Linked DNA regions of Homo sapiens: regions 2, 3 and 4 are each linked to region 1. The links are contacts of gene promoters, found by promoter capture Hi-C in blood cells and fetal thymus (Javierre and others, 2016). All regions are on one chromosome and are shown on one strand. The core of a region is centred on a gene start or on the middle of the fragment in contact, and the rest is flanking DNA. Distances in the headings are between cores, read along the strand shown. Region 1 holds the start of NKX2-1-AS1 (NKX2-1 antisense RNA 1). Region 2 has its middle 53 kb from the start of BRMS1L. Region 3 overlaps SLC25A21 (solute carrier family 25 member 21). Region 4 overlaps SLC25A21 (solute carrier family 25 member 21).

Region 1 (3,241 bases), core at 1-2,500:
CGACAAACGCACAGCGTCGGCCGGGGCCAGGCCGAGCCAGGCCACCCCTGTTTTCCGCGCCATTGGCCCGCCCGGCCCGCCCCAACCGACGGCGCCCTCCTGACCCAGGCAGCCTAGCGCTGGGGCCCAAGAGGCCCATCCGCGGGGAACTGCCAGCGCCTGCCCCAGGCCGTACCGTCGAGGGGGCTGTACTGGAGCGCTCACAGCCCCAACCCTGGCTGCCCTCCCTCAGTCTCAGTTCCCTCTTTCGAACCAAAAGACGCAGTGGGGGAAAGGCCGCTTCTGCTCCTTTCGTGCCCAGCCCGGGTCAGAGCATTAGGATTAGCTGGCCACAGGCGGCGAACTGGGCTCAGGCCGGGAGCTGGGGTCCTACGGTAGACCCCAGTTTGGAGAGGTTAGGAGAGGGGGTGTTGACTTCCAAAAGCTGGAGCCCCCAGACGCTTTGCCTCTTGGCTTCTCTCCTGTCAGGCCCCAGTGAGGGCACCTGCTCGGACCCTTAGAGTCCCCTCTGGAACTGCGAGTCCTCCCACCTGCCCAGACTCCGCTGGAGAGAGGGCCGGGCCGGGCGCTCGAGTGCCTCCCAACAGGGCAGCCTCCCTCCTGGCCCGGTCTAGCCTCTCCGCGCTCTGCTCGCCCCTGCTCCTTGAGCTCGGGGTCGCTTCCCTTGGCTCCCCGAGGTCTTCTGCGCCGAGCAGAGCTGCCAGTCCACCGCGCCTAGGAGACGCCGAGTACCCGCATCTGACCGCAGGACCCCAGCGCTACCAAGTGCCTGTTCTTGGACCCCCAGCCGAGCAGGGGGAAGCATCCCCAGCTCCCGCACCCAAGTCCCTGGCGCCGCTGCCGGGCCGCCCTCCCTGATGCCCAGCGCGCAGCCTGCCGGCGCCGCGCCTTCTGGACGGCTCTCGCCGCACCTCCTGAGCTCAGCCCGCGGCCCCGCAGTGGGGCGGCCTCACTTACTGGCGGGGAAGCGCGGGTCTGGGTTGGCGCCGTACCATCCGGGGCCAGAGGCGCTGTTCCTCATGGTGTCCTGGTACGGCGGCAGCTCGCTCATGTTGCCCAGGTTGCCGTTGCAGTAGCCCCCCACGGCGGAGTGCGAGAGCTGGGGCACCCCCGCCGCCGTCATGTGGTAGGCGGCGGTGACGGCGCCGTGGTGCCCCACGGCGTGCTGCTGCATGGCCGCTGTTGGCGGTGCCGCCTGGCCCTGCCTGTACGCCGCCAGCGGAGCCCCGAGGCCGCCGCCCTCCATGCCCACTTTCTTGTAGCTTTCCTCCAGGGGACTCAAGATGTCAGACACTGAGAACGGAGTCGTGTGCTTTGGACTCATCGACATGATTCGGCGGCGGCTGGAGGAGGAAGGAAGAGGAGGAAAAAAAAGGGAGAGGGGGAAGGCGAAGCCTCGCTGCTTTTTTTTTCTCCCTTTGCCAAATATTCTGGTGTTACCTTAACGCCGATCTTGTTGGATGTACACGTAACGGAGTGGACCGAGTCCTCCTTAATTGGCTTGAGTGGAGGCTCGGGGGCTGCCTCGCGTTTGTTTTAGCCCGGCGCCAGGTTTTAGGCAGCCACCAGAGGCGGGGCGTAAGCGCTAAAGCAACAAGACAATAGAAGCCTACATCTTGCCCGAGATAATTAGCTTACATGCTGATGACAAGGTAAACACCTTTAAGTTTCACTTGTCAGGATTTTTAGGTCTCAAAGAGAGAGAGAGAGAGGCAGAGACGAGACCCAAAGCATTTCCCCCCTCCCTTGGACACCCCCACCCCCATTTTTTGTGGGGTACCAGCGGAGCGCGGGGAGGAGGTGGAGGGGAGGGGAAGGAGGAGGGAACCGAGAGCGGGGAGGGCAGGAGGTGGGGTGGGGGAGTAACAGAGGAGGAGAGATGGTTGAGAGGAAGGAAGGTGAATGCTGCTTTGCAACCAACTTGCGGAGTTACAAAGTGGAACCACTTTCCAATTCGGTCGGGGTTCCCCGGGCACGGACAGGTCTTTAGGAGGAGGGGGCTGAGGGACAGGGTGGGGGTTTCACCTGAGCCTGCCGGGGCTGCTCCTCCCTCCCGCCGCGGCCTCCCAGCCCCGCGCCTTCCCACTGCCTCCGGACCACATCGGGCTTCGCTGCGCTGAGCCCCAGTCGCCAACAAATGAGCGAGCGAGTCTGGGGACGAACCCTGGGGCCGCACTGTTGGTCTACGTGTCTGTCAGTCTGTCTGCCTCTCTTCTGCCGCCGTCAGAGGGACACCTCTGCTCCCCGCCCCCTTTCCCCCTACCGGAGAGAATCCGAGCGGGCGGAGGGGGCGCTGAGTAGGGGATCGACTGCCTCCCGGAGGCTGTCCCGGATCCCCGAGCCACAACCCGCCCCCGCAGCTCAGGGGTTTTTCAGTGGGCCACCCCCGCTAACACGCCTCCCCCAAGGTCTTCCCCCCCCCCCCCCACCCCCGGCCGAGCAAACACAGCACTGGCCCCCAGAGCTGGGAGGATGGGAAGGGGTCTCACGGGAGGGTCCGTCACTGAAGTTGCCCCACCTCGAACAAACCTGGTGTCCCTGACCCTCGCCCATCTCCCAGACACGCGGGGATCTGGGGCTGGAGCTGACTTTCCGAGGACATCACAGCCCCAGCACCCGAGCCCAGAGCCACGCTGTTTTCCCCTCTGATGCTTCAGGGAGCGCGCGAGCAGGGAGCGGCGTGAGTGCCCGTCTGTCTGTTGCCGGGCGGAACTGAGCCTGAACCCCGGCGGCTGGAGCGCTGGCCAGGAGGGGGCGAATGCCGAGGTGCGGGCAGCTCAGCGGGCGGGAGGCTGGGCCGAGGCTCGCCTCCGCCCGCAGCTCAGCCATGCAAAAGTGCTCTTGCTTCCCGGGAATAACCAAATATCTTTGTTTAAAGTGGTGGCGTAAATGGCCAGTCGCTTTGTGGCCACGCTGGATATTAGTAGATGAGGATCATTCTGCTTCAATTGGGCGCCTCTCATCCGACGAGCAAGAAACTGCTTAGGAGGAAGAGGGTTTCCTGTCTGCGCGTTCCCAGGCTTCAAGTGTGGGCCCCGCGCCTTGAGGGTCCTTGGGCGCCTGGCGAGGGGGAGCTGTGGGCTGCGCTCCCCAGCGGAATCGGGGGTGTCCCCCGCGTTGCTCCGGCCAGGCCGGGGCCTGCAGCCGAGTCGACTACCGAGTGGAGCACTGAACGGCGCGGATTTTGAGACCGACTCCGGTTTTTGTCCTTGGATTTTAAACGTTTTTATCATTGTTTTTG
Region 2 (3,241 bases), core at 451-2,950, 640 kb before region 1:
CCGAGTTATATATTCAAGTTGCCCATTGGGCATTTCCATCTGTTACTCTTAACACATTTACAACTTAATATAAAGAAAACCAAATATTATCTCCTGTGCACATTCCTCTCCCAGTCTGGAATGTACTCTATTTGTGCTTCCACCCTTGATACACACAATGACTCACATAAATTCAGACCTTGGAGAGGTTGTGGCAGGTAGCTAAACTCATGAATTTTGGAGCCAGATTAGCTGGATGTGAACTCTACCATTTATCGGCTGTATGACCTTGGGTAACTTCTTTTTTTTTTCTTTTTCTTTTTTTGAGACAGAGTTTCGCTCTTGTTGCCCAGGCTGGAGTTCAATGGTGTGATCTCGGCTCACTGCAACCTCCACCTCCTGGGTTCAAGTGATTCTCCTGCCTCAGCCCCCCAAGTAGCTAGGATTACAGGTGCGCACCACCACGCCTGGCTAATTTTTGTATTTTTAGTAGAAACAGGGTTTCACCATGTTGTCCGGGCTGGTCTCGAACTCCTGACTTCTGGTGATCCACCTGCCTCGGCCTCCCAAGGTGCTGGAATTACAGGCATGAGCCACTGCACCCCGTCAACCTTGGGTAACTTTTTAACCTTTTTGTGCCTCAATTTCCCCATCTGAAAATGGAAATAATACTTCATAGGGTTGTGGTGAGGACTTAATGAATATATGTCAAGTGTGTAGAACAGGGCATGTTACATGATAAATCCTATGTAAGGGCTGTTGATGAATTTGACTTCTCCTCACATCTGTGGAATTAGCTAGTCCTGTAGATTCTAACTCTGAAACATTTCTAACTGAAAGCATTCTCTTTTCTCTATTCCCACTGGTGCTGCCCTAGTTCAAGCCTCTGGTATATTTTACTGAAATAATTGTGATGGCCTAACTGGGTCTCTCTCTTTTTATTTTATTTTAATTTTTCTCTTTATAGCAAATATTACATTTCTAGAACCCAGAACTGATTTTTTTTTCCTCCCAGCTTTAAATCTTTTTTTCAAATCTTTTGCTTACCCAGAACTTCAATTCTACTTTTTCCAGGAAATGCTTCTTCCCTGATCTGACTGTGTGGTTCTAATGAGAACACCTCTTTCTCTAATACTGCACAATTCTTGGTCCTAGTTGAGTGCACTAGGTGAACGTGTAACTCAGCCTGCCCCAATTAAAACCCTTCTCTTGGATCTCTTAAACTATAACTGCAGGAAAAAGTATCAGTCTCCCTCTTATGTTGGAACTGGGACAATAAAGTTTGGAAATTATAGGCAATGACATTTCCTGCCCTGTGGAGACAGCTGAGGAGATGAGAGGTGGATGGGGAGTTTCTTGGCATTTAGCCTCGTGCTATGAGCTGACTCATAGTCCATCTGCACTCCGGTCTTCCTTGTGTTATGTGGGTCTTCTAATAAATTCCCCTTTTTCCAAACGATTTTGAGCTGGATTTCACACCCTTGCAACATTTATGATGCATCCTTAGAGCTTCATATTCTGTTGATATCCACTTTGAAAATCATCACAAACTTTTATAATTTCAGCACAAAGTCAAGGAATTAAAAAAAAAAGGTATTCATGGAATTACAAATATATGCATGAGAAAGAGAAAAGCAGTCCCTGACAACTAGGAACTGCGTGATAGGCCTTGGTGTTCTGTTGAACATAAACAATCTCACGGAACACCAACATCACGGCCACTCTGTGACCGTGAGGAAGTGGGGTCAACGCCCACCCCAACAACATCTTGTCTAAATATAGACAAAAACAAAGTCAGTCTGCAAACCACAAAAAATGTGGAACATTCCCCTATTCTGGCTAATGTGAATGACTTCTGCTTCTTTACCAATTATAGCATTAGCCTCACTTCATTCCACCTGCTTTATAAGTAAAACTCATTAAGATACTAAATTATGGGATTGCCCCCACTTCCTGACAGCATTTTATCCAGAGCAAAGCCCACTTCCTCAAACCCTACCAAAAATCTCCCAATAAAAGCCCAAATCCTATAAGTCCCTTTTAACACCTTCTTACTCAGACATCCACAGTTCCCTATGGTGTGGTTTCTCCCTCCCTGAAATGAGCAAGAAACCCAACTTGTGCAACTGCCGGTGTGTTCCTGGTGGCCTTTGGCTGGAAGGCATTGACACGTGGAACATTTAAAACAGTTTGCTGTAATAGTTTTTTTTTTTTAACTAGATTTAGACAATGATACAAAGTACATTCTGGACACAGATCTGGGAACTTCTAGTATATAATTATAATGGCTGATAAAAAACAGACTTTAATTTTCAATTACACATTATTGAAAGAATCACAAAAGACAAAAAGACAAGGCGAAAGGCATTTCCTGAATGCATTTTGTACTGCAATCTAAATTAGATAGTAGTACTTTGCTTCTAAAGCCAGAAAATAATATTAATATTTCTACTATATTAACCAGGGACTATCATCTGGAAATGTAAAAGCTACAGTCCCAGTGCATTTTCATTAAAACCTGAAGGTGGCAGTAAATTCCTACAAGACTTAGGTGCCTAGGTTAGAATTTGTATTTTTCCTCCTAATTATTCAAAATGGTATAGTGAGACTTCAGTTGTATTTAATCCTGTTGCATACTAATTAAGAGATGTTTAGGAAGAAGATAAAGCTCTACACAAGGATTATATTATTATTACTCTTTATTAGCTGAAAAAAATTCACCATGTAAAGGGCTTAGGGACATTGCAACTGGTTATATGCTTTAGAGTTACTGTAGAAACAAAGTATGTAATTAAACAAAAGGGAACATGAGAGCTTGTAATACAGATCAAAGTGCTCTGAAGGGATGTGGCAGTAAATATAATCATCCATCAGTATCCTCAGGGGATTGGTTCCAGGATCCCTGCAAATACCAAAATCTACAGATGCTCAAGTCCCTTATATAATATGGTTATTTGCATATAACCTATGCACATCATCCTTTAATTCATCTCTAGATTACTTGTAATTCTCAATATGATGTTGTGTAAATACTTGTTATACTGTATTGTTTAGGAAATAATGACAAGAAAAAAAGGACTGTACATGTTCAGTACAGATGAAACTATTCTTTTTTTCTGAATATTTTCCATCTGTGGTTGGTTGAACCTAGCTGATGTGAAACCTACAGATATGGAGGACTAACTGCATAGTTTATATTTATCTATTAAATAATAACCATGTTGTAGATTTTTGCCCCACATTTCTCCCAATTTTGTCCTCA
Region 3 (3,241 bases), core at 516-3,015, 630 kb after region 1:
TGGTAGGCCTGGAGATACAAAATAAACATGACTTGGTCTCTTCCTTAGAGGGGCTCACTCTTCATAAGACTTAAAAAACAAGAAATAGATCCAATGCACTCTTTTAAACTAATAACAAAAAATCAAGGAAAAGTAAAATAGATGCTTGTGAAAAGCCTCTTTGCAGAGTGAAATGGAATACTACATATTATGTAAGCATACCAATGAAAACATTATCAGTATATATAATGCTGGATGACGGCTATTTAAATATCCAAATTGAATGAACAAATGATGGCTCACAATAGCCTCAACCTCCAGGGCTCAAGCAATTCTCCCCACTTTGGCCTCCCTAAATGCTGGAATTACAGGCGTGAGCTATCTGTGCCTGCCTAGATGATCCATTTTTTGACTATGGAAGATATGAAGCCAACAAGAATCACATAGACATCATTATCACCACTGTTTTTTTTTAACTTAGATGCCAGTGCCTCTACTTTTCTCTTTTTCTTCCCTTCCTTGCTTCTTGTTGAACTTCTAATCTCCAGCTATGAGCTCAAAATACAAGGTATACACCAATGCAGATGTCCATGAACACATGAAAGAAACAGAAAATCTACTGTCACTTTCTTGATGCTTTATGAGGCAAACCTAATGAAACTATATTGCTCTGTAAAACAAAGTTGCTTACCATTTTCATATCATATTCCTATTTCAACTTTACAGAATATAAATTAAATGTTTTCTTAGGGCAACTAAAAACTGCTCCATCAAAAAAAAAATCCGCTAGGGCCGGCCACGGTGGCTCACACCTGCAATCCCAGCACTTTGGGAAGCTGAAACCCCATCTCTACTAAAAATACAAAAATTAGCTGGGCATGGTGGTGGGCGCCTGTAGTCCCAGCTACTCAGGAAGCTGAGGCAGCAGAATCGCTTAAACCGGGAGGCAGAGGTTGCAGTGAGCTGAGACAGCACTACTGAACTCCAGCCTGGGCACAGACTCAGGCTGACTCACAGAGCAAGACTCAAAAAATAAATAAATAATCACTAAATAGTCTTTAATATTTCTTATATTTAGTACAGTACCTTCAATATTCATCCTCCTTAGAACTATCTTGAAATCCCTTAGCTGTATACATTTCTCATTAAGAGAGAAAAAATAATTTAATTTAGTAATTATTTAAAAATTTTTTAAAGACATGGGAAAGTTATACTGCCATCTTGTGGTTAAAGTTTGATTACAGAAGCAAGCACTTCTGGCATTTCCCATTCATAAACCAAATCCACAACATAATATGTATCATACTTAAAACTTTTTCCTTACAGAAGGAGTAGGGTTGAAGGAAAAAAATCCTGTTTAGAACTTACATTCAAGAAAAATTATTATTCATACATATACCCAATTTCTTATGTTAAAGGCCACTGAATTAAAACAAGAAATGGCATTTGAGTCCCAGATACATAAATAAAACCTACGTGTTTGGCACTGTAGCTCCTGTTTAGAGATGTTTATAATTTATTATGACTATAATACATACCCTAGCCCTAATAACTTTGAAAAACAAAATTATGGAATCTAGGAGTTTCAGGTAATCTCTAAGATCTACAAGAAATTATGACATTTATCCTAAGCTTATCAATGATTTCTATTTTATCCAGGACTCTAATTCAAATTTTACGGCAAGAACCAACATAAAGAAAATAAATATTATACAAATAAAAACAGTTTCTTCCATCCCTCTTTCTTACTCATATACATAAACCCATTTTTCCATACATACACAGGTATGAATCACAATTAAAAGAAAAATTAATTCCCAAAGTACAGTCTGTATTTTTCAAGTGTAGAATTCTCTATGATCTATGCAAGGCAAAGATGCTTTGCAATAGTGGAATGTAATCAGAAGTTAACACACTTCTAGATCTAACTATATCTGCAGAAAGCTTTTCCTTTTAAAAAGAAAATAAAAAGCAAATCACCAAAATTATAGGAAGACAGCGCCATCTATAGGTCTGCACAAGTACAGAATAGTAATCTTAGTTTCAGATATAAATGTCCACTGTGATAAACTAGCCAATCAAATGTGCTGTCCTAGGCGGACGCTCCAAAATAATGCTGCTCATTCTCAGATCTCTGGAGAGGATCTTGCAATTTACTCCAAAGTGCTTTAACCTGCCTCTACAATCATGCCCCAAAATGATAGTGATAATAACAGCAATAGAAGCCTCAAGCAATCAGAACAAAAACTAATGTTTTTCACAATTGTATTATTCTGATTTGGCATACTTGATGGTCGATAAATATTGGTAACTTTTCAAGAAATATTAGCACATTGGTAGGTTCTCTCTCTCTCTCTCTCTTTCTCTTCATTCTGCAAAATTACTTTGGGCCATGATTCTATTTTAGGTGTCATCCAATTCTATCGAGTTCTATTGAATTTCATTCTTCTTTCTCCAAAGAGGAGGCTATACGTTCTCCCTACAGTAGTCTATTCTAGTTTTTACAGACATTAAATTACATGCGACTTAAGATTCCCTCCTTTTTCAGACAGGCCCCTCCTGTCCACTCTTGGGTTGCTCTCACTCTACTGAGTCACACCAGTATCTTATTAGTTGTGTGCGAATTCAGTTAACAATACGTGAGGGTGGAGGCTTGGCCCACTTCCTGACCAATTGCCTGTAGCATCTGGCAGAAAAAAAGATGCCGCATTAATGCCAACAGAGGCACTGCTGGTTAATATGGAGAATTTCATACTTAAGCTATGGCTGGCATTTAAAAATCTGCAAAAACAAGAAATGGACTTTTGTACAAGGGCAGACCCTGTTTGTTCATTAACACTCAAGTTCAAGAAAAAGCTGTGGTATTTAACATAACCAGAGAGAAAAAGAAGACTTATGGGGGCAATACTTGAAGGGGCTGCTTACCTGATTTCTCATTCTGCACACTAAGAGGCAGGGTGGAGTAATGGATGAGAGCTCAAGCTTTGAAAGCAAAGAGCAGAGTTTGAGTCTGTGTCTGTCATCAGCCTTGAACAAGATATTTAATTTCTCTGAGCTTCACTTTCCTCATCTTCAAGAAATTACAAATTGGCTCATGCCTGGAATCCAGCACTTTGGGAGGCCAAGGCGGGCAGATCACTTGAGGTCAGGAGTTCAAGACGAGCCTGGCCAACATAGTGAAACCCTGTCTCTACTAAAAATACAAATATTAGCTGGGCAGGGTGGCATGTGCCTGTAATCCCAGCTACTTTGGAGGCTGAGG
Region 4 (3,241 bases), core at 466-2,965, 600 kb after region 1:
AACATATAAAAGTTAAGGTACCAAAGAAAATCCCACTGTCAATGATAATCAAACTAAACAACTACACATCTTTTTGTATGTGATTTAATTGCCCAGATTTCAAAGAAAGCCACATAATCTTATGAGTTAAAATATTTCTTTTTCTTATTTTAAGCATGGCAGGACAGCTTTTCAAAACATAACTTGTAGTATTGGGTGCCATTCCAACTACCAATTCAGATCCTTTGACATGGCGGCTCAGTTTGCTAATCTTGGCTTATACTTTTAAAAACAACTTACTACAACTTTACGTGGTAGCATTCTGTTTTTCTTATAGTTTATAGCTGAAAAATGTACTCTTTAATTACTCTTGATATTGACAAAGGGCACTGTGACTCATTTTATTTTTCAACATAGAGCTAAAAGGTACATGAATCATCCTTTTGAAATTTGGAATGCAGGCAAAACAGTGGCTGTGAATGGAGTCTAAGTAAATAATTCCTCTCATCATCTAAACTTTTTTTCAGGGCATCAGCACTAGAAAAAGTCATTTTCTTAGCAGTAGCTTATTGCCCTAAAAAAGAAATGGTGAAAAATTTATTCCCAGAGCACAGTTTATTTACCATAAGATGTGGCTCAGTAAAGTGTTTTGTATGTTGGAAATGTAAAGTTAATTCTTCCTGTCAAAGCCTTAGGAAAACAGGCACATCGTAAACATACTTTTGCATTTTAGAGCTGGCTCTCTTTATTTTAGAAGAGAGTTTTTTCTATACATCCCTTAAGTCGGCATTCTTAGATGTGTAGAAATGAGAATAAGTAATTTAATAGTATCCTGGTATGACAGATCTAATATAACATATACTAGAGTACGTTTTTCACTCTCCACATGGGAATACAAAGAGGGAGAGGGGGGAAGTGTAGAAAATAAAATCCCAAGAGATGAAACTGATACCTCTCTATGAAGAACTTTTAAGCTCCTTCAAATAGTGGGGTTAAGTCACTGCCAAGGCTCAATACTGCCATCTCCTTCCTAAATGCAGAAATACATAAGCAATCTGAGGATAAAAATACAGGATCACAAAGCAAAAAGTAGTTACTGGATACATAAAATTCACCAAACATAGTTTTTTTTTGTTTGTTTTTTTTTTTTGTCATTTTGGTAGGAAGTCCAATCACTAAAGATAGTTTAAAAACTTTATTAAATTAACAAATATTTTAAGACTACAAAATGATTCTTTTTTGTATGGATTCCCCTCCTCCCAAAAAGCTTAATTTATAGTTTAAATGATAATAGCCCTCCCCAGAAACTAAACCACCTTTGCAAAACTAATGAAAGGCCACCAAGTTAGGAGGATGGTAGGAACCCGAATTATACTAACGTACAGATGTAATGGATTACCAGCCATTATTCCAGAGGTCACAATATTTGCAGCTTCTCCAACCACTCCTGCAGATAACACCACTATTGTTAGAACCTAAGAATGGACTTTTGAGATGTCTTTTCAGGTTTTTGCATTTCTGACAACTGATGGCTCCACCCAGATCCACCAACAAGTCCTGTGGCCCCACCTAGAAGCAGACTCAGCAAACAGGAAGACCATTTTCCACAGCTCTGTGATTGTACCCCCAAACAATCAGCAGCTCCCATTCCCCAGCCACCTGCCTCCTCCCAACTATTTTTGAAAAACTCTAGCCTCCAAATTTTTAGGGAGGCTGATTTGAGTAATAATAAAACTCCGCTCTCCTGTTTAACTGGTTCTGAATATGTAAAGCTCTTTCTCTATTGCAGTTCCCCTGCCTTGATAAATTGGCTTTATCTGGGCAGTGGGTAAGAAGAACCCATTGAGTGGTTACACTATTATTGATAATAGTCCAACTTATTTTTCTTATTTTAAAAGATATTTAAGGATTGAGACAACTACTAAGGAAGTACATAAAACCAACCTTAAATTTAAGCAGAGTAATTCCCTGGACTATCTTTTCTTTAGGGTTTTTATACTTATTCCTTGACTCCCATGGTTTCCTTACCTAGTAATTGATTCCTGAAAATCCACCATTACAATAATTTTTTTTTAATTTAAAGGTTTTTTCAGAGGCATTTGAACCAGAGTGACTCCATCTTGAACACAGGCTGGGTAAAATAAGTCTGACACCTACTGGGCTGCATTCCCAGGAGGTTAGGCATTCTAAGTCACAGGATGAGATACAAGCTTAGCACAAGATACAAGTCACAAAGATCCTGCCGATAAAACAGCATGCAGTTAAGAAGCTGGCCAAATCCAACCAAAACCAAGATGGTGATGGAAGTGACCTCCAGTAATCCTCACTGCTCATTATACACTAATTATAATGCATTGGCTTGCTAAAGGACACTCCCACTGGCGCCATGACAGTTTACAAATGCCATGGCAACATCCAGAAGTTACCCTAGATGGTCGAAAAAGGAGAAGAAGCCTCAGTTCCAGGAACTGCCTGCCCCTTTCACAGAAAACTCATAAATCCACCCCTTGCTTAGCATAGAATCAAGAAATAACTAGGCCAGGCACAGTGGCTCATGCCTGTAATCCCAGCACTTTGGGAAGCTGAGGCAGGTGGATCACTTGAGGTCAGGCATTCGAGACCAGCCTGGCCAACATGGTGAAGCCTCATCCCTACTAAAAATACAAAAATTATCCAGGCGTGGTGGTGTGGTGGCATGGGCCTATAATCCCAGCTACTCAGGAGGCTGAGGCAGGAGAATTGCTTGAACCTGGGAGATGGAGGTTGCAGTAAGCCAAGATAGTGCCACTATACTCCAGCCTAGGCGACAGAGTGAGACACCATAAAAAAAAAGAAAAAAGAAAAAAGAAAAGAAAAGAACTATAAGCATAATCAGTTGAGCAGCCCACGCCGCTGCTCTGCCTATGGAGTAGCCACTATTTATTCCTTTACTTCCTAATAAACTTGCTTTCACTTTATTCTATATTCTATGGATTTGCCCCAAATTCTTTCTTGTGTGAGGTCCAAGAACCGTCTCTTGGGGTCTGGATGGGAACCCCTTTCTGGTAACCATTTCAGCTCTATTAAAATGAAAATAGCTCACAGAGAGGTAAATATGTAATACAGCATCAACTACAAAGATCTTACTGTACACTGTTCTCAGGTAGGGTGGCAGCAAGTTCCTACCTAAAGATAAAGGTGAAAATGATATGATATGATATCTGCCACAATGATACGAGTGGCAGAAGGAGATTCAATGTTCAGACTTTAGAAATAGAAAATA

The links. Contacts are between HindIII fragments. The CHiCAGO score rates a contact against its expected background, and 5 or more counts as called.
Region 2: a contact is called between a fragment that was not itself captured here and the fragment with the promoter of NKX2-1-AS1 in region 1, in 1 of 17 cell types (M2 macrophages). The highest score is 5.0, in M2 macrophages.
Region 3: a contact is called between a fragment that was not itself captured here and the fragment with the promoter of NKX2-1-AS1 in region 1, in 2 of 17 cell types (endothelial precursors and M2 macrophages). The highest score is 8.5, in endothelial precursors.
Region 4: a fragment that was not itself captured here is called in contact with the fragment with the promoter of NKX2-1-AS1 in region 1 in 1 of 17 cell types (endothelial precursors); the score reaches 5.3 in endothelial precursors.

The regions. Positions count from the first base shown.
Region 1 is chr14:36,518,028-36,521,268 of GRCh38, forward strand. NKX2-1-AS1 (NKX2-1 antisense RNA 1) reads left to right here and starts at 1,251. Exons shown (of 2, transcript NR_103710.1): 1 at 1,251-1,652. It overlaps NKX2-1 (NK2 homeobox 1), which reads right to left and starts at 2,205. Exons shown (of 3, transcript NM_001079668.3): 1 at 2,026-2,205; 2 at 958-1,343. The coding sequence starts at 2,102. SFTA3 (surfactant associated 3) reads right to left here and starts at 1,529. Exons shown (of 5, transcript NR_161365.1): 1 at 1,441-1,529. RefSeq lists enhancers at 1-462, 1,621-2,620, 2,621-3,241. The HindIII fragment of the contact is 5,756 bases long and covers 1-3,241 here.
Region 2 is chr14:35,877,345-35,880,585 of GRCh38, forward strand. No RefSeq gene overlaps it. Among named protein-coding and RNA genes, the nearest start is that of BRMS1L, 53 kb to the left of the region's middle. The HindIII fragment of the contact is 8,468 bases long and covers 1-3,241 here.
Region 3 is chr14:37,148,699-37,151,939 of GRCh38, forward strand. The region is part of intron 1 of SLC25A21 (solute carrier family 25 member 21); the gene reads right to left. Among named protein-coding and RNA genes, the nearest start is that of SLC25A21-AS1, 22 kb to the right of the region's middle. The HindIII fragment of the contact is 312 bases long and covers 1,610-1,921 here.
Region 4 is chr14:37,116,752-37,119,992 of GRCh38, forward strand. All of the region lies in intron 1 of SLC25A21 (solute carrier family 25 member 21), which reads right to left. Among named protein-coding and RNA genes, the nearest start is that of SLC25A21-AS1, 54 kb to the right of the region's middle. The HindIII fragment of the contact is 943 bases long and covers 1,245-2,187 here.